Linked DNA regions of Homo sapiens: region 1 is linked to region 2. The links are contacts of gene promoters, found by promoter capture Hi-C in human tissues and cell types (Jung and others, 2019). All regions are on one chromosome and are shown on one strand. The core of a region is centred on a gene start or on the middle of the fragment in contact, and the rest is flanking DNA. Distances in the headings are between cores, read along the strand shown.

What was found. Contacts are between HindIII fragments. The study calls those that stand out against the background at their distance.
Region 1: a fragment that was not itself captured here is called in contact with the fragment with the promoter of CTNNAL1 in region 2 in 1 of the 25 tissues and cell types used here (lymphoblastoid cells).

The regions. Positions count from the first base shown.
Region 1 is chr9:107,652,013-107,656,709 of GRCh38, forward strand. The region is part of intron 8 of LOC105376205 (a long non-coding RNA gene); the gene reads left to right. Among named protein-coding and RNA genes, the nearest start is that of KLF4, 160 kb to the left of the region's middle. The HindIII fragment of the contact is 4,958 bases long and covers 302-4,697 here.
Region 2 is chr9:109,010,149-109,014,876 of GRCh38, forward strand. It overlaps CTNNAL1 (catenin alpha like 1), which reads right to left and starts at 3,351. Exons shown (of 19, transcript NM_003798.4): 1 at 3,154-3,351. The coding sequence starts at 3,294. RefSeq lists an enhancer at 2,539-3,042 and a silencer at 2,704-3,593. The HindIII fragment of the contact is 6,778 bases long and covers 1-4,187 here.

The sequences.
Region 1 (4,697 bases), core at 1,531-4,030, 1.4 Mb before region 2:
GTTCTACCCTTCCCTGCCCTTCTCCGTTGGTGCCTGGAAGTCGACTGCGACAGCACTCCTTGGCCTCAGCCATCCCCTGGAACTTAGCTAGTGGGAATAGCGGCAGAAGATTGGGGGCATGTGGGAGGAGAAAGACGCTCCCTTCTGGCCAGGCACTGTGGCTCACGCCTGTAATCCCAGCACTTTGGGAGGTCGAGGCAGGTGGATCACGAGGTCAGGAGATTGAGACCATCCTGGCTAACATGGTGAAACCCCGTCTCTACTAAAAATACAAAAAATTAGCCGGGCGTGGTGGCACGTGCCTGTAGTCCCAGCTACTCGGGAGGCTGAGGCAGGAGAATCACTTCAACCTGGGAGATGGAGGTTGCAGTGAGCCAAGATCACGCCATTGCATGCCAGCCTGGGCAACAGAGCGAGACGCCATCTCAAAAAAAAAATAAAATAAGGCTCCCCTTTGCTTCAGCTTGGTCTGACCAATGATACATCACACATCACAGCCTCCACGATCCAGCTCCAGCTCCCAGTGGTGGCTGCCAATCTCCTTGGGCTCCAGCTCTTAGCCAGGCATAGGGTTGAGGAGGAATTAGGTCTTCAGCCTTCTTAGTCCCAGAGTGTCTCAAAATACATTGTTATTCCATGCAATCCTACCCAGACCTTGACAAATAGTCCCTTTAATATAATTTATTTTAAGTATCCCAGACCAGTATGTCATCTGCTTTCTGCCAGTACCTGGACAATATCAAATCTGGTGTCTGGGCTGTAAGAGAGGTTTAATAATAATAACCTGAGCAGCCAGTCTTTATTCAGGATTTAGCTTGGGCATTATGGCCAGTCATTTTTCTGTTTCAGTTTTTTTAAGAACCATTATATCATTGAATCTTCACAAAGGCGCTGTGTGGGAGATATTAATTATTATACCCATTTTGCAGATGAGAAAAGTAAAGCTTTAAGGTGTTAGTGATTAGCTAAGTCATCCAGCTAGTATGCAGGGGAATCAGGATTCAAATTAGTTGATGTTAATAATACTGTTATTTGGCGAACAGGGACCAAATCTTAGACTCTGACTCTCACTGCAGTCTTGTACCCAGAAGTGCTCGGCAGACACTCGCTGATGGATGGAGGCTTGTAGTTCAGAGCCCTAAGTTTCTGCCTCATCTGTGTTTTCCGGGAGTTCTCCCTGTGGCTTCAGGGCCACACGTGCCTCTACAGACCCTTGCTTCTTGTTCAGAGAGTGTCTGGGCTGCTGTGTTCCCAAACAAGCCCTGGGGATGGAGTTTTTCTTTCATTACTTCTTGCCCATATTTCTACACACTCTGAGCTGCCAGCACAGCCTCCTTGTTCCTCCACCCTCCTGGTCACTCATGCCCACTGGTGTTTACAATACGCCTCCAGCATCTGTGGACTTCATTACAGCCTGTGCTACACCCTCTTCCTGCTCATCGGTGCAGACTGCATGAGGCCAGACTGAACACAGCTCCCCAGGGTGCCTGCCAGACACTTCCACCAGCCCTGCCAGATTCCCTTCTCTGGGGACAGCCAGCCAACCTCTAATCCAGGTGTCTCTGCAGGATAAACATTCCCCATGGGGCACCAAAGCCATATTCTGTTCTAGCCTGTGCTATAGTTAGCACTATTTGGAGAGTGACTTAGAGCATTAGTTTTGGAGTCAGGAAGACCTGCCACTTAGTAGCGCTGTGATCTTGGTTCAGTAGACTAACTTCTCTGACCCTCGTGTTCCTAGTCTGGAAAACTGAAGATAAATAGAGTTGAGAAATGGGATTGTTCCATGGAAAGCACCTGGCTCATCTTAGGCACAGAATTCATTCTCTCTTCCTCCTAAAGACCACTCTGGGGATACTAACGAGCAAGAAGTAGAGTACATTTGTCATTTATTTGCTTATTTTTGTAGTGCTCTTGACTAGGTGTTGATATATTATCAGAGATTATAAACACAATTATCCCCATTTTATAAACATTCCAAGTTCAGAGAGCTTAAGTTAATTTGCTTATATTCACCCAAATAACAGGTTGGGTTTACCATTGACCCTAATTTAAACTGACTCTCTATTTTTAATTTTCTCTTGTCATTTTTTTTTTCAGAAATGAAAAGAAACAACTAAGTGATATTCGCCTAAATGAAACTGCCTGTATTTCTTGTAAAAAGATAGTCGCCTTTGCTCTCTGCACTTTTTTTTGTTTGTTTGTTTGTTTTTTGAGACAGAGCCTTGCTCTGTTGCCCAGGCTGGAGTGCAGTGGTACGGTCTTGGCTCACTGCAACCTCCACCTCCTGGGTTCCAGCGATTCTTGTGCCTCAGCCTTCCCAGTAGCTGGGATTACAGGCGTTCACTACCATGCCCAGCTAGTTTTTATATTTTTAGTAGAGATTGGGTTTCGCCATGTTAGCCAGGCTGGTCTTGAACTCCTGGCCTCAAGTGATCTGCCTGCCTCAGCCTCTCAAAGTGCTGGGATTACAGACATGAGCCACCCCACCTGGCCTATTTTTCTTTATCCAGATATTCTCTCATGAAAGTAGTTGTCATTTGTGACTCCATAATCTCATTATCTAGTTTTCTCTGCTCCTTGGATGAGCTGAACTTTCCAAGCCCTTTTTGAGATATTGCCTATCAAGGATGAAATGCAGGAAAGTCATACTCTCAGTGGACTGACATGGGAGTGTTTATTCCGTAGGACTCAAGTCAGGACTTGGGTTGGGGCTAAAGTCGGGGATGGTCTGGATGACAGAATGAATTTGACATCATTGTCATTGTTATGCATTTTCTCCTTATTAAGCTCAGAAGTTGAGGCATGTTTAAGAGTTTCTTTCTTCTTATATCATTGTTTTATTTGAGAATTTAAATAGGGCTGTGAGCTTTCACTCACCACCATATTATGAGCTCCCTGCTGGGTCTCACTGATCTCTGAACCTTGTATGGCCCCTTCTACAGTGCTTTGCATACAATGGCGGACAAACTTGAATGAACGAACATTTATGGAGCACTCTATTGTTCTCTATATTATTCTGTTTGCTTGCATGGATAGCGGTGGACACTGGTTCTGAACCTGATTGGACCTTCCGGCTCTACATGTAGTGCTTTCCTCACACTTCAGCTGTCCGGCAATATCTCTATCAATGATGGTTGTTGAGCAAGATTTGTCTTTTCTTTTAAAGACTGCCAGTGATGTCATATATGGTGTTGGGGGAAGGAAGGTGAATAAGAAATATATAGAGAGGGCTGGGCGTGGTGGCTCAGGCCTGTAATCCCAACACTTTGGGAGGACGAGGTGGGTGGATCATGAGGTCAGGAGATTGAGACCATCCTGGCCAACATGGTGAAACCCTGTCTCTACTAAAAATACAAAAATTAGCCAGGAGTGGTGGTGTGCACCTGTAGTCCCAGCTACTCAGGAGGCTGAGGCAGGAGAATCACTTGAACCCCGGAGGCAGAGGTTGTACCACTGCACTCCAGCCTGGGCAACAGAGTGAGATTCCATCTCAAAAAAATGTATATATATATACAGATATATATACACACACAGAGAGAGAAAGGCAATTTTGGAAGGAGGGTGAGTGAAGCAGGCATGATCTCTCTTCACAGACAGGATTATAACGAGCCTCAGTTGACTGGGTGGTTCCCTCGGCATGTGAGAGTAAAGAGGTTGAAAGAAACCAATGTGTTATCATGGGAACTGTCCCAGTTTTATAATCTTCATTTATTAAAAGGGCTGAAAATGAACACATGGAGAGCAGGGAAAATTCAGTGAATGGGAAGTAATGCAGGCTAATAATTTAAATACAAGTTTTGAAGTGGGAAATCAGAGAGTGGAGAAATATTTTGAGGAGTCTTTGAGCTGCTCAAATTGCTTTTCCTGGTTAAGAAATAATTGGCTGCAGGTGAGGAAAAGAATTACGGTTCTGTATCTGAAAAAGATGCATTGAGGTTAGTGCTTCTTGGCCAAAAAGATATCAACCAAGGAGCATCTCAAGGAGAGGGGGAACGGTCCTCTGTGCAGGATGGCCACTTGTCTGAGCAGGAGATGCCTGACAGAGCTCCTGGAAGGTGAAAGGACCTGAGGTGAAATTGTTGATGGAATTAGTCTGATTGCAAAAATGGTCACAAATTATTCCCCACCCTGTATGTATATCCCTGTGTGATGTAACAGCAATTCCTCTCATCAGGAGGTGACATCTATTTCTCCAGCCCTACCATCTTGCCTTGGCCATGATTCCAACATGTGACTTATTTGGTCAGTAAGAGAGTAGCAAATGTGATGCAGTCAGAGGCTTGAAAAATGCTTCAGGTTGAGAATTGCCTTCTCCTGATGCCCTTGGTTACACTGCAACCACCAGCACATGAATAAGCCCTGGGCAGCCTGCTGGATGACAAGAGACACATAGCCCAGTTGCTTCCATCACCCTGCTGAAAGCCAGATGTCTGAGGCTGCTGATGGCCAGCAGATCTCAGGTAAATGAGGGGGCCCAGTTGATTCCACATGGAATACATGAGCTGTCACAGCTGATCCCCACTCAAACTGTTGACTCTCAGAATCATACACAAATAAACAGTTGTTGTGTTGAACGCTAAGTTTTGGGATTATTTGTTATACAGCAAAAACTAACTGATGCAAAGTATACGCAACAGATGGCAAGCAGCAAGTAGGGAAAGAAAAATGCACTTGACATAGGTGTAGATCAGGAG
Region 2 (4,728 bases), core at 2,101-4,600:
TGAATAGCTGAGACTAGAGTAGCTGGGATTACAGGCACCAGCCAGTGCGCCTGTGCCTTGTTTGTTATCAATGTAGAAAAATGCAATTGATTTTAGTATCCTACACTCAGTGAACTTGCCAACACTCCTAATTTTTATAATTTACTTGTAGACTGTTTTGAGTTTTCTGCATAGGTTATTATATCACACTGAGACTTTTGGTTTTTCCTTTCCTATATTTATTCCTTTTATTTCTTCTCCTTGTCATATTACACTGGCTAGAATTTCCAGTGCAGTGCTGAGTAGAAGCATAGCAGGCACCCCACTCTGGTTTCTGGCTTTAAAGGAAATGTTTATTTTAAATTTGACTGTTGCTATGATGTTAAGTAAAAGTTTTCTGTAGATACTCTATCAGGTTAAGGACACTTTTTCCTAACACTAGTTCCCTAAGTGCTTCTTATCATTATTAGAAGCTGAATTTAGTTGAATGCTTTTTCTGCATCATTGTTAGGAAAATACATCTTTTATAATCTGTGAATGCAAAAAAAACTATACACATTTTTCTAATATTGATAAAATCTTGCATTCTTAGAATAAGGCCAGTAACCCAGGACTTTTCACTTGGAGAGTCAGAAGAAGCTAGATGATACCAGAATAGAAACTGTCTACTTTAAACCGTATAGTGCCAGTCCTACTTGTTTACCTCAAAACCCTGCCTCCTCCATGACATCACTGCTGACTCATCCATGCCTTCTCTGAGCTTTTAGAGTATGTACCATTGATGATGTTCATTTGACACTTTGCATGTGCTGTTCTATACATGACCTATCTACCAACTAGAATATAAGCCCCTCAAAAAACAGCAACAAATAAGCACACAATAAATCCTTGCTTAAAATGCTTAAAATATCCTTGTGGATGAGATGGTGAAACATGAGTTGGGTAATAATACAGCATTCTCAGAAAATGAGACTTGTGGACATATGAGTTTTCTGGAGAACTGCTGTTTTAATCTCCTAACACTGAAACTTTAAAATCATTCTAAATTGTACTTCCCTGCTTTGTTAACCGAGTATTCTGGCCATGCTTAATACACTTCTTGATTTTAACTTTTTCTTGTTAAGGACAGTCAATTATGAGGAATATCAGTTATGGTGTTGTGGTAGAGATGTAGCTGTAGATACACAATGTGTGGGATGCAAAACCTCAGCTGTGACCCTGAACAAGGCTTTAACTGGAAAAAGAAAAAAAAAAAAAGGCAGGCATTCTTCCCCTTTGGCATTGACCTCTAACTCTCAGCAGTGATTTATACTTTTCTTCCTCTGCTCTCCTACCCTTCTCTGGCTTCTTTTACCCCAGAGTTACACAATGCAGAGCTGTAAGACTGATACATTTTTAGCAGTGGATACTGTGAAAAGTTGCCATTTCTCCAGATTATGACTTTCTAGCTTGTTTTTCCACTATGTACCATCTTTTTCTCTAGATCTCATTACTGCTTCTAATCTCTAGAGAGGACACAGCATAGTGTAGCAAAGAGAACCTTCTGGAGCCAGGGTACCTGGATTCAAATCCCAGTTTGGCACTTATTGAAAGCCCTAACAACAAATTATTTAACCTCAGTATTCCTCAGTTTCCTCTCCCATACCACGAGAATATATACCAACTTCACATGATTGTTATGAGAATTAATGAGTTAATATTTACAAAGTGCTTAGAACCTGGCCTACCACATAGTAAGCATTACATAGGTGTTATTTAAAAAATGGATAAAATACTATCAACTTGAACTCCATCACTCTCTTATCTCTCTGCCTCTTAAAACTGCTCCAGTGTTTCTCGTTTTGGTTGTGTTGTGCTAGTGGAGATAGGCGAGGAGCGGAGGGTCTGACATTACTGAGGGATCCCAGTGCCCCTTCCCACTGGTCAGAGCCTCAATGAGACACAGGAAAAGGGAAGGAGAGTGTCAGATATATTCATCACTGCTCCGTTAGCCATGCGAAGGTGAAGAAAATAGGGATGTTTATTTAACCAGCATAACAGGAATCCAGGGACATGTGTAACTGCTGTTTTCAAATATGCGCAGGGCTGGGCAGGAGAAGAGATAATAGCATTTAGAATTCTATGCAACAGCTACAGGCTCCCCTTCACTGAACATGTTTAAGCAGGGTACTGGTGGCCAGGTGTCAAGGATGCTAAAGAAAGAATTTTTAGTCAGATAATCTTTAAGATTTCTTCTACCTCTAAAATCTTGGTAATCCTAGTATGAGTCACGAAGTGGTTACAACCTAGATGTGAGTCACACATCGCCAACGCGCTCCCGAAGGCACAGAATTCACTCCCCACAGTGCTTGGCATCTTACCACAGACCTAAGTGAGGAATTCTAGCCCTGAAGCTGCATATAACCCAGCTCAGAGAAACAAAAACTTTCCTAAAACTCAGGGCGTCGGTTAGCTGATTGGCAAATACAGTAACGCACACATCCCAAACGGGACTTGGCAAAACGGTGTGCATCTGGATTAACTGTCATACAGTCTCCACGTCACTCTTCCACGAGGCCGGACAGAAGCGGGCAGAAGTGAGCAGCAGCAGGTTCAGGGGAAGGGGTAGGGTGGCCGGGATGAATGGGAGGCCAGCGAACTGACCTACGGCGGGGAGGGACAAAGGATCAGGGAGCGCACGCTGGGCGGGGAGGCCGGGAGGAATACCCCAGGCGGAGGAGCCGGGCTCGGGACCAGGCTGCGAACTGGTGACAAAGTCGGTTATCGTGGAGGGCCCTAAGTACCAGCGAGGGGCCCCGCGGGGGTCCTCTCTGCCTCGGGAGCTGGGCTCAACCACTCGCCCCGCGGAGGGGGCATCGCCCGGCCGGGGGCACCCGGGAGCCGCAGACCCGAGGCAGGTACTGGGGGCAAAGGCCCAGGCCGGCACCCCCGCCCCGCAGCCTCCCCTGCTGCCGAGTCCACTCAACCCTGCCGCCGGAGTTTGGATTATCCAGTCTCTCGCCGCCCGGGCCGAGGCCCGTCCCGGAGCCCCACACAGGCGGTCCGACAAGAACGCCGCAGTGCCGGCGCGGAAAGTGGGGCAGCGGCTGCCTCCCGTCCGGTCGTGCGAGCGGCGGCCGCCATCGCGGGCCGCGGCGGGAAGGAGAAGAGGGGCCGCGCCAGGCGCCACTTTACCTGAGAAACCAGCGGGAGTAGCGTCTGCTCCACCGAGCGAGTTTTGATCTCCAGTCCCGAGTCGAGGGCGAAGCCCGAAGAGCCGGAGCCGTAGACTGCTCCGGCGCCGCCAACGCCGGCGGGTCCGGGAGAGGCGGCCATGGCCCTCGGTCTATCCCGCAGCCGGGACTCCGCGCCGCGGCGAGCCTGCCGCCAGTCAGCCCACCCGCCCGAGGCGGCGGCGACAGGACACTCGCGCCAACCGAGACCCCGCCCCCAGGGGCCCGCCCCCCCAGGGCTCCGCCGCCAACCCTGCGTCCCCGACGCCCGTCACCGTATGTCCCCGCCCACCCCCGGCCTCTGCCCCGCCCGCGCAGTCCAGCCTGGTGTGGGCTCCCTGCAACCCCACCCCCTAAGCCGGGTCCCGCCCCCACATGGCCCCGCCCTTATCTCTTCTCAGACCCCTTCCATGGGTTCCAGGCACCTTCTCGCCAGGGTGGCGAGGAGAAACAAAACACATCTGTCACACAGCCACATGGCCTCCTCTTACTTGGACAGACAAGCGTCCCCAGCAAAGCTTCCCGTCCTCTCGATAGGTGACTCGTCCTAAATCAGCTCTGAATTCCCGCAAAGACTTCTGGAAGCTGTGCTGGGGTTGAAACTGGTAGACCAAAACCAGAATCAAGTCTGTTGGGAGGGGCCTTTCCCCTGGGACGGGAATTCCAGTGGTAATGTCTTCCTGGGGCTTCTCCGGAAGGTCCAATTTCCACTCCACCCTGCTCATTCTTTCACCATGTATTTCTCACAAACACTTTGAGCTGGATTGAAGGGGAAACATTTGATAATGCAATCATTAATGGAGTATCTGGGTATTCGGCAGGAAGTCAGTATATCTTTCACACTACTGTTTAGACTTATTCAAAAGAAATTTAAAAGAAACATGAAAAAGCCTCATCTACTGTTCAACACTACTTCTTAAAACTATTTTTCGAAGTTTTTTCCTAGTGCCAGGCACAGAGCAGTTTCTTCATAACTGTTCATTGCATGAAAACACCAAGTGTGTATTTCTGACAACTCACTTGAGGGGAAGGGTAAGAATCAGTTCTGTAAGCACAACTCTGAGCTCGCACAGAGCCCCACGATGGGGGCGGGGAGCTGAAGACTCCTATTCTAAGGTCTCCAGGAGCAAGGCCAAAAGGAGGTTGTCAGCAGTATGCACGCCGTGAAGGAATTCCAGACTTAAGCAACAGACTGAGAAGCATGAAAAAATGTTTTGTCAACTACCATATCTGCCAGTGAGAACCTGTCAGAGTAAAAAAGAATCTGAGGCTGGCCAGTCCACCCGGACACCTTGGCCTGGATCATTTCTTCTTCCATAACACCAGATTGATGAGCTGGGTACATCAACCTGAGGCATAAGAAAGCTCTTTCCCAAGCACCGTTGAAAGGCGCTTCACAGTGCTTCAACCTGTAGCTTCAGCTTCATCAATCTACCAGTGCTGCACAGCTGTCTTTGGTATTGAAGATAGCCAAGCTTCAGCTTCTTTTTCTTCATTCAAAAAGGACAGGTCCTCAATCCAACTTTTTCTTCCAATT